Regions from separate parts of the Homo sapiens genome. Here regions 1, 3 and 4 are each linked to region 2. Evidence: promoter capture Hi-C in 16 types of primary human blood cells and fetal thymus (Javierre and others, 2016). All regions are on one chromosome and are shown on one strand. Each heading gives the region's core, a stretch centred on a gene start or on the middle of the fragment in contact. The rest is flanking DNA. Distances are from core to core; before and after follow the strand shown. Region 1 overlaps LOC124902740 (a long non-coding RNA gene). Region 2 holds the start of BIRC3 (baculoviral IAP repeat containing 3). Region 3 has its middle 27 kb from the start of MMP7. Region 4 has its middle 28 kb from the start of MMP7.

Region 1 (3,372 bases), core at 850-3,349, 160 kb before region 2:
CTTGATGTACTCTGATTTCCCAGTCAAAAGGTTTATAGTAAGGTCTGTCAGTCAGCACAAGCCATGCCCCTTTTACCTGTTGATGATATGCTCTAAATGTAATAGGGTCTGTGTATATCTAGTCATAGCGTCAAATTGTTCACTGAAGTCCCTGTAATGTTCATTCAATCCAGAAATGGAAGGTTTAGAGCTGCCAGTAGGCATGGGGCAACCAAACACTATTTCAAAAGAGGTTAATCCATGTCTTCTATTTGGAGTATTCTAGATTTTTATAAGGGGTAATGGTTTTGTTTTTGTATGTTTGTTTGTTTGTTTGCTTGTTTTTATGGAGTCTCGCCCTGTCTGGAATGCAGTGGCGCGATCTCAGCTCACTGCAACCTCCACCTGCCGGATTTAAGCAATTCTCCTGCCTCAGCCTCCCAAGAAGCTGGGATTTCAGAGACAGGGTTTCACCATGCTGGCCAGACTGGTCTCAAACTCCTGACCTCAAGTGATCTGCCTAGCTCGGCCTCCCAAAGTGCTGGGATTACAGTGCTGAGCCACCGCACCCTGCGCATTTTTTTTTTACAAGGTGTAATGCTTTCAGCCAATTAAGTCCAATTTCTTGACAGACTTGTCCTAAAGTTACTTTTGTGTCTCAGTGTTTACATTCCACTTGCTCTGAGGATTGGGAATGATATAGGGTATTAAATTTCAATGAATATCCTAGAACTTTTGCAAACAACTGTTTTATTTCTGCTGTAAAATAAGTTCCAGTGGTCTGATTGAATCTATAATAGAACATCCAAATGAAGAATGATCTGTTATTTATTATTTATTAATTGATTAATTTATTTTTGAGACAGAGTCTTGCTCTGTCTCCCAGGCTGGAATGCAATGGCACGATCTCAGCTCACTGCAACCTCCATCTCCCAGGCTCAAGTTTCCTGCCTCACCCTCCCAAGAAGCTAGGACTACAGGCATGCACCACCACACCAGGCAAATTTTTGTATTTTTTGTGAAGATGGGGTTCTGCCATGTTGGCCAGGCTGGTATCGAACTCCTGACCCAGATGATCCACCTGCCTCAGCCTCCCATAGTGTTGGGATTAAAGGCATGCGCCACCAGACCAGGGTAATTTTTGTATTTTTTGTACAGATGGGGTTCTACAATGTTGGCCAGGCTGGTATCAAACTCCTGACCCCAAATCATCCACCTGCCTCAGCCTCCCAAAGTGCTGGGATTACAGGCGTGAGCCACCACGCCTGACCTGTTATTAATTTCTTTACCACTGTCATGGTGTCAGCACATCTAGTCAGATAGCGTTCAATCCATCCACTAAACATACAGACAACAATCAAACAGTAAGAAGAGCCTAAAGCCTAATGTCTTAGAGGACTTGCTGAGGCACGTTGGTCTCCTCCAAAAATCTGATGGGATTTATTAGAAGTGCACTGAGAATAATTCAGTTAGAAATTTTGTAAATACCAAGGCAAAACCAATTATCTTTTCATTCCTTAACTATCCTCTGTCTGTACATATGTCCCATCTGAAGGGAGATAAGTGCTTCAAGCCAAGAAGTTAAAAAAAGGGGGGCCACAGGAACTCCATTGGCCCCATGTATAATACACCTGATAATTATCTGACATTCTTTTGTATTCATTTGTGGGTTTTTTGTTTGTTTGTTTGTTTGTTTGTCGCACTGTGCCCATTCTCTGGTAATCAATAACACCAGTAAGCAATAAAGGCAGGTTAATAAAGGGTGGAAAAGAATAGGAGGGTTCTTTGGGGCTGCATTCTTAGTGGCCTTCTCCACCCTCTCGTTCCCTAGAGATATACTATCAGTCTCCTTAGGGTGAGCTGAACAATGAGCAATAGCAATTTGAATAGGGAGGTGAACAGCCTGTAATAGAGCAGCAATTATATGCTAATTGGAAATAGGATTATCAGCAGAAGTTAAGAATCTGCTGGACTTCCAGATTGCCAATAGTGTGGCAGACACCCAAAGCATATCTGGAGTCAGGGTAAATAGTGGCAATTTTTCCTTTTGCCATTACACCAGCTCTAGCAAGATCTATACATTCGGCAGCTTGGGCTGACTTTACAGTGGACAAAGAGGATGCCTGAAGTGTTTCACAAGGGAAAACTATGGCTTCACAGTTATGTTTCCTGGAAATGTCATCCACAGAAGCCATTACAAAATAGAAATAAGTCTGGATTGTCTAAAGGAGTATCTAGGAGGTCTTCTTGTGGCTTTGAGACCTTTTCTATAGCTGCAAGGCAAACATATTGAATGGAGTGAGGCTCTCCATCATCAGGCAGGGGCAGTAGAGCAGCTGGATTTAAAGTGTTACAACAATGCAACATGATGGAGGAGCTGGTAAACAGGGCCTGTGCATAGGTGGCCTGCCATCTGGAGAAAGGTGCTGTATCTTATGAACTTGTAAGAGAACAGGCAGCATGGGGAACATATGGATGAATGAAGGAGTGTAATATCAGAATATGCTGGCTTTGTCAATTATTAGGGTGGTAGCTGTGGCTACTGCACATCGGCATGGGGGTCCAATTGACATGAGAAATATGCTACAGGGTGTATCAGAGAGGCAAAAAAATTGTTCCAAATATCTGCAGCAATCCCATTGTGTCATGGTGAGATGGGCGAAAAGGTCTGTCAAAATCAGGTTAGCTGAGAGCAGGGGATGTGGATGTTAATTTTAAGGCTCCGGAGGAGATTTATGGATCTGCAGGCCAAGAAAATGGGCTCAGAATTAATATCTGGGAGGAGGGTATAAAGGAGCTTAGCAAAGGCAACAAAATTAGGAATATATTGGTGGCAATAACTAGCTGCTCCTAGAAATTTACATAGATGTTTTTTTGGGAGGGGAATGCACAAAACTGACTCTAGGCATTTTGGGGCGAGCTTTTGAGTGCTCTGAGATATGACAACCTAGCAATTCAATCCTACATAAGTAACAGTTATTTGCACCCACTGAAGTTTAGGTTGGAAGGCTTTATGGCCTCTGTTGAGCTAGTGCCTTTAGGAAAATGAGGGAGTCTGGAAGAGTGGGTTGCTTAGTTCAGTAACAAACTAAAAGATCATATCGGAATAATGAACAAGAGTAGAGCCTTGGGTAAAGGACACAGAGTCTAAGCTGACTTTAAGGACTCGGGAAAACACTGAAAAGGACTCATGGTATCCCTGACCTATATGAGTTCATGTTCATTTTCTCCCTCTAAATGTGAATGTAAAGAGAAATTTTGAGTCAGGGCGCAATGGAATTGAACAGAAAATTGAGCAGATGTCAATCATTGTAAATCAGGCTGTATCAGCAGAAATTGAAGTAGAAATGTCAGCTGGATTAGGGACTAAGGGGTGGTGAAAAATCACAAAGG
Region 2 (3,524 bases), core at 26-2,525:
ATTTCTAGTGGTTCCTTCTCAGATTGGCTCAGTCCCCAGCCTCTCCTCTTCTGACTCATTCATTTAACCTACCAAGAAGGCAACCTCCCCAGTCCCAGGGCTGTTGGGCATCCCTACCCTTTGGGCATGCAGCACATCCATTTTTCTGACACTGGAGGGCAAGTGTGCCTTTTCTTTCTGCCTCCCGCTAGACAGTAAGCTCTTTTAGAATGGCAACTATTAATATGTTTCATCTCTGTACCTGCCCTCCCACTCATAGCATCTGCAGAGCTTGGTATATGGGGTAGACACGAAGACTTCCCGTTGAAGAAGTAAATGACTGAGACCTGAGTGACCACAGTACTTCTATCAATTTTATATTAATGACCACAGAGTCAGCTCAGTGATTGATTAGTATCAGGCTTTGGAGTCAGACATCGGGGGTGCCCAATACCAAGCAGTCCGGTAACCAGAAGCATGACCTTGCACAAGTAAATCTCCAAGAGCCTCAGTTTCCTCATTGTCAAATGGAGATAATTATGGTACCTGCTTCTTAAGATTATGATAATTAAACGTGAAAAATACATGTAAAGTCTTCAGAGACAAACCTAGCACATAGCAGGTAGCAGTACTTAATGTTAGCAATAAATAATAGCAAATAAAGTCAATATTTAATATTATTGTTACGTTAGCATCAGGTACATGCCTTCGACAATGTATTGATCAGAGTAAGAGCACTACTAGGTTTCCATGCTGATCACCAGGAAGACAACCAAAAACTGCTGTCTTCCTACCACCGCTTGGAAACATGCGTCCATTTGCTCATTAAACGTTTTACTTCCTTCCTGTGCCAGAGCTCTGCCTTAGGCTCTGTCCTGAAATTTATTTGGCACCTGCAAAGGCCCAGTGATAACTCTTGGCAACCGAATCAAAATGCCACAACTTCACAATTCCACTGGCTCACTCCAAACGTGAAATAGAAATTGAGCACCTGGAACCTATCTAGAGCCTGCTTTTGGGCCCTGGTGTTTGATAACTGCGCCCCACCCACTGACTCTCAACCTCTGCAGCGCCCCGGGCTCTAGCCCTAAGCGCCCCTCGGCCAGCCGCTGGCACATCTCTTACACCAGGGGAGGCGCGCGCGCGCGCACACATACACACACACACACGCACACACACACACACACACACCAGCCTTCCTTGCCCACCTGCTGCCCAGAGGCCGACGACGCATGCACCAGCAAGGACAAGCCCAGTCTTTTCAAGCGACACCTGTCGCCTGGCCTTTTCCGTGCCGGAGGGCGCGAGTCTCACGCTGTCTTTTAAATGCGTCACCCAAATCCCCACCCCTATCTGTACCAGGCGTTCCGCACTCCTCCCAGTGGTTTGCATGTGCACTGGTGCTTTCCTTTTAGGACTTAGGGGAACTCCAGCGGTAATAACCACACACACTTCCTCTTAATCAGTGGCCTGGCAAACCCACTCGGGGATTTCCATGACCCAAAAGCATGACTCTTAACCGTGGCATATCTTCGCGGCATTTACTGAAAGACATTTGCTTCATTGCTCGTGGGTCAGAGGAAATCTTGATAACAACCCATATAGAGAGGACGATCATTGCTTAGCCTGCCTGGAAAAGGTCAATATGCCCTGTTCTCCACCCTCCATCCGCCATACACTTTACACGTAAAAAGGTTAGGTTTTTCAATCTTCTACTATAGCTGCAGAAGTCCAGCATTTAAAAAAAAAAAAATCGAAACTTTGTGAAATATTTCTATTTATTTTTACTTTTTGTTCTGATCAAGAAAGTAAGAGGTGAAAGGAAATGTAGGGGTATGTGAAAAAAATCATGCAGTTCTCCTTTGCAGTTTATTTTACCATTTTAAAGATTGAAATGGCTTGGTAAATTTTCTGTATGGAAATACTTTTGTTTGGTTTGGTGAGTTGTTTTTTTTTTTTTTTTAATAAGTAGGGTGGAGTTGGCTACTTAAAAAAATCCCTCCTTTATAGCCTTTGATCTCACAGGGCAGGTTTCTGAGTTGCAGTGCCATTCTCAGGGAAACCTGACATCTTTGAGTCTAATTGCACTGCCATATTTCCCTCAACGTTCTCTAAGCAGTAAATTTAAGCAACTTTATCTGAGAGCCATCCGTACCAGGGTAACAGATGGATTTGGAGAGCTCATCTGATTTTCTATCTTCCAGTAGATCAAAGACAATTACCAACCAGAGACAGAGCCCATAAAGATTATTGGAGACTTCATCGTTCTGTGGAAACAGCATCCAGTGCATTCTGCACGCAATTGGACTGAGCTGAGGCATCCTCTTGTTTAGGTGGACTTGGCTGTCCATAGCAGCTGAAGTTCCAGTTGGAATTATTTCAGAAAGACTAAGTGTATTTATCATATGGAGATTTTAATCCACATTTGAGTCTGCTTCAATCAAGACTTTCTAAGCCATTTTCAACTCACTCCTGAGATTATTGAAAATAATTTGCAGGCCTTACACATTTTTGATTATGTACTCACCAGAAGAATTTTGAAAAGCTCTGCATTCCCTTGCCCATTTTTAACTTAACATTAAAACATAAAGCTCTTGTACATGTCAAGAATCTACAAAATGTAAACATAGATATTTTCAGAAAAAATTGATAGAGCACTCTTTTAAATGTATTTGATGGATCCTAATACCATAGTAATTTGACATACATGATCATCCATGAAGCAATTATCAGGTCATCTTTAATAACTGAAAATATTTTATCATTGCCTTTTGTCATTGAACATTCCAATTCCCCTACAGAATGTTAATACATGTTTGTACTGAACATCTTTTATCATCTCTCTGTCACATATCTCTGAAACAAATACATATTAGAACTTGAAATCTATTTTTTTCTCTGGGATCATAAGGATCTAAGTGTTAAAAAAAAAAAAAATTCCTCTTTGACCAGGCATGGTGGCTCACGCCTATAATACCAGCACTTTGGGAGGCGAAGGTGGGTGGATCATCTGAGGTCAGGAGTTCAAGACCAGTCTGGCCAACATGGTGAAACCGGTCTCTCCCAAAAATACAAAAATGAGCCAAGTGTGGTGGTGCACGCCTGTAGTCCCAGCTACTTGGGAGGCTGAGGCACAAGAATCACTTGAACCTGGGAGGCAGAGGTTGCAATGAGTCAAGACAGTGCCACTGCACTCCAGCCCTGGAACAGAGTGAGACTGCATCTCAAAAAAAAAAAAAAAAAATCCTCTTTGATTACATTATCATTGATATTGTTTTCATTACTTTTAAAGCATAATTGGTCAATACAATATAAAAATATCGTAAATGTTAATAACTGCATTACAAATACAATTTAAGGGGGTGGCAGCTTGTATTTTAAGCAAGTTTTTCAAGTGTGCAGTCATGAATATTACCTATAGCTATAATATGTTAGGGTTCAGCACAGATTCTGTTCCTTTTTTCATTTCTACAGACATAAATGTTGTAAACCTTATTTCACAGAAGTAAGTAGATAAGTAGATAGGCCCAGAAGAAACATTATTA
Region 3 (3,560 bases), core at 324-2,823, 240 kb before region 2:
TTTTCCTCCCAACAGAGCAAAACCGGCTAATGTCGTAAAGAGCTATAAAATCATAACCTCTGGATTATGTTTTCTACTGAAGGGGTTCAAAACATGCTACCCTCAAAATATGCCACTTGGCATATTGCTTATTTCAAGCTAAAGTAAATTAAGAAACAGCCAATGCAGAAAAAGCTCTTCACTTCCCCCTCACCTGTTTAAAATAATGTATAAACTTCCCCTTCTGTAAGGAAAATTTACATTTACAAAGAAAATTTCTATTAGTAAAGGTATCCATACCAGGAAGAGAACAACTCTAAGACAATTTTTATTGCCTGAGAGACTCTTATCCACATAAGAAGGTAAACTATATTCACCCTACATTTCCTCCTCTCACCTTCCCATCATTTGCCTCCACCACTCCCCAGAAGTTCCAAAGCCCTATTTTTTCCTATAGCTTATGCTGACATATGTCTCAGTTATCTGGGTACTTCCTTGAGTCTCATTTTTAGTGGGATTCCCACGCATATGTCCATAAATTAAAGTTATTTTTCTCCTACTAATGTTTTTTATGTCCATTTAATTCTTAGACCAGCCACAGAACATAGAAGGGTAGAAGGGAGCATTTTTTCCTCCCCTACACAATCACACAGAAATCAATTTCATCTCTACCAAATGAAAATTATTTTCAACTCTGTAATGATAGATGTTAATTCCTAGAATCTAGTCCTAATCAATAGTAAATAGTAATTTTAACAAAAGAAATGACAGGATTTTTAGGTGCTGCTTTCCAGGTGGAAATTTCTGCGGCCGGCAGCACTCCTGCCCCAGCTTCACTCCACTCAGGGCTCACTGCTAGACTTGCCCCACATACTCGGCCCAGCAGGCTGTGCTGTGCTCATGCTGCCAACCTGGATCTCACACCCATCAAGGGCAAGCCAGGAGCACCAGCTGCTACAGCAGTAGGGGGCAACTCCAGGGGCCACCTCTGTACAAGTCTGCAGCTGGACCAGGAATACTGCAAGTGGCCTCCACCTTGGGCACCAGCATCTGGATGAGAGGAACATGGTGGTGCCTGAAAAACTCAGAGACATCAGCAACCGTGGAACCCAAAGGGGGTGTTACAGCTCCAGCTTGGGGAGTCCTGAGGTCTGGGCTCCAGAAGGGTTGCCGCTCTTCTCTCCCATGGACCAGAGAATGGGAGCGTGTCAATGCCCACAGCTCAGTGAGCCAGCCAGGAACATGTTACAGTCTTTTTTGCACCAATCATTCAGCAGGTCCCAGGTTCTTGTCCTACGTTCGAGAAGAATGAGTTATGCAGCCAACCAGAGGGTGACCAAGGCAGAGAAGAGTTTTATCAAATGGCAGAAGAGCTCTCCACAGAGAGGGTTCCCAAAGTGAGTAGCCCCTACCCAAAGTTGGGTAGTCCCTCCATGTGGCTGAGTCTGGGGTTTTTATAGGCTCAGAATGGGGGAGATGTGGGCTGTAGGTACCCTTGGAAAAGGCAACATTTGATTGATTAAAAGGAAGTTTTCAGAAATAACCAATCAGAAAAGAGCGGGCACACAGAAATAGTTCTCGCTTAGGTTGTGGACTCTATCTGGAACCCGGAGCCAGGTTTTCAGGCTTCAGGCTGTTTTTGGCTTGAGGGTCAGGTTTCACTGCAGACCCACCCCTGTCTGCCTAGGAATATGTCTGCCTCCTGCTGTTATCAGTAACATCATTCTAAAGCATCAGATGTCCCTCAGGTCAGCTTATTAGACAATGCTTTTATATGAGTTTGAAAGGACACAACTATCTCTACGTTTTCTAAGTCTGGAATAGTTTTCCTTAATGATAAATTTCTAAACAGTAAAATTCATTGAAAAATTTTAAAATTTATCCTAATTTAGCATCTTTTAAAATGTAGATTATTTAAATAAGATGGTTGGGGCATCATTATTTTTATTGTTTTCCTAAGTTGGGCTTATTGAGGTACATATGGTAAATTTCACCCATTTTAAGTGTACAGTTATGAGTTTAGGAGGTCAGGTAACCAACACCACTATCAAGATGTAGAATGTTTCCATCACCCAGAAAAGTTCCTTTGTGCCCGTTTGTAGTCAATTCCCTCAGCTTTCTCTAGTCCGTGGTAACTACTGATCTGTTTTCTGTTCGTATATTTTCTCTTTTCCAGAATGTCACGTAAGTAGAATCAGTTCTCATCAATGCCAATTTTTGCATTTGTGCTTTAGCTTTGGTTAGTCTATTCATTCTGCAAACATAAACATATCAGAAATATGCATATGCATTACACAAATAGGCAGAAAACTAGAGGCAGCATTTTGGTTGTTGGGTTTTTGTTCTTGTTTTTGTTTTTGCTTGAGACAAGTCTCATTCTGTCGCTCAGGCTGCAGTGCAGTGGTGCGATCATAGCTCACTGCAACCTCTGCCTCCTTGGCTCAAGTGATGCTCCCACCTTAGTCTCCTGAGTAGCTATTACCACAGGTGCATGCCCCCACATCTGGCTAATTTTTAAATTTTTTTTGTAGAAACAAGAGTCTCACATGTTTCCCAGGCTGGTCTCTTTCTCCTGGGCTCAAGCGATCCTCCTGTGTCGGCCTCCCAAAGTGCTAGGGTTATAGGCATGAGCCACCATGCCCAGACTAGAGGTAGCATTTTGAACTAATTAGTCAGAATGCAAATACAACTCTGTGAAATAGCTGAAGTATTGTCACTAAATTTTTATCAATAAAATATAAAGAGGATCATCCCTAAGAAAAAATCTAATTTAATAGTTGCATATAGCAGGGAATACAATTCAAGTAATACCTGCAATGTTAACTTAGTAAACTAAATCTCGTTAGGAAGATTCCCCTCCATGACACTATTATGGTCACTGTCCTCTGTACATACTGCCACGGCCACAGACACCACGTAAACCTGCCTGATACCCTTACCATCTTAGGCAGCAACCATACAGCCTTCAGGGATGAGCCCCAGGAAGAGGGCTTCCAACATGGAATTTCCCACCCTTGCTTTATTACATGGCTACTGCAGAGCCCAATATGAGAGAAGTCAATCAAGTGGTACCTGAAGGCAGCAAGTACACTACATTTTCTGAACTCTCTTGTCATGAATTTTTCATTGCCTCGGTCTAAGCTAGTCCTTGTACTGGAAAATAGGCTGCCTGGGAGACTTCCCAGAGCACTGACTATGCCCAGAGCACTGACATAATGACATAAAAGAGTGCATTTGTATTGACTGCCTTCCTACAGCAGGCAAAATGGTTGTCGCAAAGTCACATCTTTCCTTTTTCTCAGAGTTGGCAATCTCTGAAAAGTGGTTTGTGAAGCTCGCTCCACCTAGAAGCAGGGTGATATATGGGAAGAATATAAAGTTGATGGTCACTCCTCTATGTTCAAATCCTGTCCGACTTTATAAACTTGCTCAAATTACTCCTTGAGTTTGTTTTCCTGAATGAAAAATGGGGATGCTAAACACAGTAAACCGTTTGCAGAAATGGCCACAGTAATTCTTACCAGCCCTGTACATGTGCCCACTTAAATGTGAATTTGCCACTCCTTTTATATTGAAGTGGA
Region 4 (3,547 bases), core at 837-3,336, 180 kb before region 2:
AAATGTAATCCATCACATAAACAGAACTAATAACAAAAATCACATGATTATCTCAATAGATGGCAGAAAAGGCCCCGATAATATTCAACAACTGTTCATGCTAAAAACACTCAATTAACTAGGTAATGATGGAACATATCTCAAAATAATAAGAGCTATTTATGACAAACTCATAGCCAATATCATACTGAATGGGCAAAAGCTGGAAGCATTCTCTTTGAAAACCAGCACAAGACAAAGATGCCCTCTCTCACCACTCCTGTTCAATATAGTATTGAAAGTTCTGGCCAGGGCAATCAAGCAAGAGAAAGAAATAAAGGTATTCAAATAGGAAGGCAGAAAGTCAAATTGTCTTTGTCTGCAGATGACATGATTGTGTATTTAGAAAACCCCATTGTCTCAGCCCAAAAACTCCTTAGGCTGATAAGCAACTTCAGCAAAGTGTCAGGATACAAAATCAATGTGCAAAAATCGCAGGCATTACTATACACCAATAACAGACGACAGAGAGCCAAATCATGAGTGAACTCCCATTCCAATTGCCACAAAGGGAATAAAATACCTAGGAACACAATTTAAAAGGGATGTGAAGGACTGCTTCAAGGAGAACTATAAACCACTGCTCAAGGAAATAAGAAAGGACACAAACAAATGGAAAAACATTCCATGCTCATGAGTAGGAAGAATCAATGTCATGAAAATGGCCATACCACCCAAAGTAATTTATAGTTTCAATGTTATTCCCATCAAGCTACCATTGACTTTCTCCACAGAATTAGAAAAAAACTACTTTAAATTTCATATGGAACCAAAAAAAAGCCCACACAGCTAAGACAATCCTAAGAATAAGAACAAAGCTGGAGATATCACACTACCTGACTTCAAACTATACTACAAGGCTGTAGTAACCAAAACAGCATAGTAATGGTACCAAAACAGATATATAGACCAACAAAACAGAACAGAAGCCTCAGAAATAACCCCACACATCTATAACCATCTGATCTTTGACAAACCTGATAAAAACAAGCAACGGGGAAAAGATTCCCTATTTAATAATCGTGTTGGGAAAACTGGCTGGCTATATGCAGAAAACTGAAACCAGACCCCTTCCTTACACCTTATACAAAAATTAATTCAAGATGGTTTAAAGACTTCAATGTAAGACCTAAAACCACAAAAACCCTAGAAGAAAACCTAGGCAATACCATTCAGGACATAGGCATGTACAAAGACTTCGTGACTAAAACACCAAAAGCAATTGCATGCAACAAAAGCCAAAATTGACAAATGGGATCTAATTACACTAAAGAGTTTCTGCACGGCAAAATAAACTATCATCAGAGTAAACAGGCAACCTACAGATGGGAGAAAATTTTTGCAATCTATCCATCTGACAAAGGTCTAGTATCCAGAATCTACAAGGAACTTAAACAAAGTTACAGGAAAAAAACAACCCCATCAAAAAGTGCGCAAAGGATGTGAACAGACACTACTCAAAAGAAGACATTTATGTGACCAAAAAACATAGGAAAAAAAATCTCGTTATCACTGGTCACTAGAGAAATGCAGATCAAAACCACAATGAGATACCATCTCATGCCAGTTAGAATGGCAATCATTAAAAAGTCAGGAAACAACAGATGCTGAAGAGCATGTGGAGAAATAGGAATGCTTTACGCTGTTGGTGGGAGTGTAAATTAGTTCAACCATTGTGGAAGACAGTGTGGTGATTCCTCAAGGATCTAGAACCAGAAACACCATTTGACCCAGCAATCCCATTGCTGGTTATATACCCAAAGGATTATAAATCATTCTACTGTCATGTGTGGTGGCTCACACCTATAATCCCAGCACTTTGGGAGGCCAAGGCAGGCAGATCACCTCAGGTCAGCAGTACAAAACCAGCCTGACCAACATGGTGAAACCCCGTCTCTACTAAAAATACAAAAATTAGCTGGGCATGGTGGCAGGCACCTGTAATCCCAACTACTTGGGAGGCTGAGGCAGGAGAATCACTTTAACCCGGGAGGTGGAAGTTGCAGCAAGCCGAGATCACACCACTGCACTCCAGCCTGGGCAACAGAGGAAAACTCCCTCTCAAAACAAACAAACAAAAAAAATCACTCTACTATAAAGACACATGCACACGTATGTTTATTGCAGCCCTATTTACAATAGCAAAGACTTGGAGCCAACCCAAATGTCCATCAATGATAGGCTGGATAAAGAAAACGTGGCACATATACACCACGGAATACTACGTAGCCATAAAAAAGAATGAGTTCATGTCTTTGCAGGGACATGGATGAAGCTAGAAACTATCATTCTTAGCAAACTAACACAGGAACAGAAAACCAAACAAAAAAAAAATTCTGAGAAGAAAGCACAGGGCAAGTGCTTCATGATATTGGATTTGACAATGATTTATTGGATAGGACACCAAAAGCCCAGACAACAACAACAAAATGCACATACTGGACTTCATGAAAATGTAAGAATTTTGTGCATCAAAAAACACTCTCAACAGAATAAAAAGGCAACCCAAAGAATGGGAGAAAATATTTGCAAATCATATATATGATAAGGAATTAATATAGAGCATATATAGAGACCTCCTAAAATTTGACAACAAAAAAATTTTGATTTAAAAATGGGCAAAGAACTTAAATAGAAGTTTCTACAAAGAATATATACAAATGATCGATAAGCACATTAAAACATGCTCAACATCACTAATCATTAGAGAAATGCAAATCAAAACCACAACAAGATACTGCCTCACTCACATCCCCTAAGATGGCTTCTATTTTTAAAAGCTGAGAATAAGTGTGGGTGAATATATGAAGAAATTGGAACCTCTGTGCACACTTCGAGGGAAAATTGTATAGCAGTTGTGGAAAACAGTACAGTGGTTCTCCAAGAAATAAAAGCAGAATTATCATATGATGCAGCGATTCCACTTCTGGGAAAGTACGCAAAAGAATTGAAAGCAGGGTCTCAAAGACACAGTTGTACACTCATGTTCATAGCAGCATTATTCCCGGGAGCTAAAATGTGGAGGCACACAAGTGTCCACTGACAGATGAACAGATAAACAAAATGTGGTATATATACACAATGGAATGTTAGCCATAAAAAGGAAGAAAATTCTGGATAAAACTTGAGGACCTTAGGCTCAGTGAAATAAGCCAGTTACAAAAAGACAAGCACTGCATGACTCCACTTACATGAGGTACTTAGAGTATAACATTCATAGAGATGGAAAGTAGAATGATAGTTTCCAGGGCCTTTGGGGGAAGGGGCAATAGAGAATTATTGTTTAATGGGCATACAGCTTCAGTTCTGCAAGAAGGAAAGTGTTCTGGAGATTGATGGTGGTGATGGTTGTACAAGCATACGAATGTACTTAATACCACTGAACTGTACACTTAAAAATGATTAAGACATTAAATTTTATGTTATATATATTTTTCCTCAAAAAAAGAGAAAAATTTACAATGAAAAAAGATCATAATATAAGTTAAAATTCAATTTGTAAAATACT

Evidence for each region. Contacts are between HindIII fragments. The CHiCAGO score rates a contact against its expected background, and 5 or more counts as called.
Region 1: a contact is called between a fragment that was not itself captured here and the fragment with the promoter of BIRC3 in region 2, in 8 of 17 cell types (neutrophils, non-activated CD4 T cells, naive CD8 T cells and 5 more). The highest score is 8.9, in neutrophils.
Region 3: a fragment that was not itself captured here is called in contact with the fragment with the promoter of BIRC3 in region 2 in 2 of 17 cell types (total CD4 T cells and naive B cells); the score reaches 5.4 in total CD4 T cells.
Region 4: a contact is called between a fragment that was not itself captured here and the fragment with the promoter of BIRC3 in region 2, in 4 of 17 cell types (naive CD4 T cells, monocytes, fetal thymus and 1 more). The highest score is 5.6, in naive CD4 T cells.

What each region holds. Positions count from the first base shown.
Region 1 is chr11:102,479,866-102,483,237 of GRCh38, reverse strand. The region is part of intron 1 of LOC124902740 (a long non-coding RNA gene); the gene reads right to left. The region is part of intron 1 of LOC102723838 (a long non-coding RNA gene); the gene reads right to left. Among named protein-coding and RNA genes, the nearest start is that of TMEM123-DT, 29 kb to the right of the region's middle. The HindIII fragment of the contact is 6,416 bases long and covers 1-3,372 here.
Region 2 is chr11:102,315,235-102,318,758 of GRCh38, reverse strand. It overlaps BIRC3 (baculoviral IAP repeat containing 3), which reads right to left and starts at 1,275. Exons shown (of 9, transcript NM_001165.5): 1 at 1,188-1,275. LOC124902739 (a long non-coding RNA gene) reads left to right here and starts at 1,516. Exons shown (of 2, transcript XR_007062864.1): 1 at 1,516-1,673; 2 at 2,187-2,864. RefSeq lists enhancers at 1-23, 284-483, 1,285-1,644, 1,655-1,724, 629-1,828. The HindIII fragment of the contact is 7,438 bases long and covers 1-3,524 here.
Region 3 is chr11:102,556,217-102,559,776 of GRCh38, reverse strand. No RefSeq gene overlaps it. Among named protein-coding and RNA genes, the nearest start is that of MMP7, 27 kb to the right of the region's middle. The HindIII fragment of the contact is 4,858 bases long and covers 1-3,560 here.
Region 4 is chr11:102,500,723-102,504,269 of GRCh38, reverse strand. No RefSeq gene overlaps it. Among named protein-coding and RNA genes, the nearest start is that of MMP7, 28 kb to the left of the region's middle. The HindIII fragment of the contact is 4,304 bases long and covers 1-3,547 here.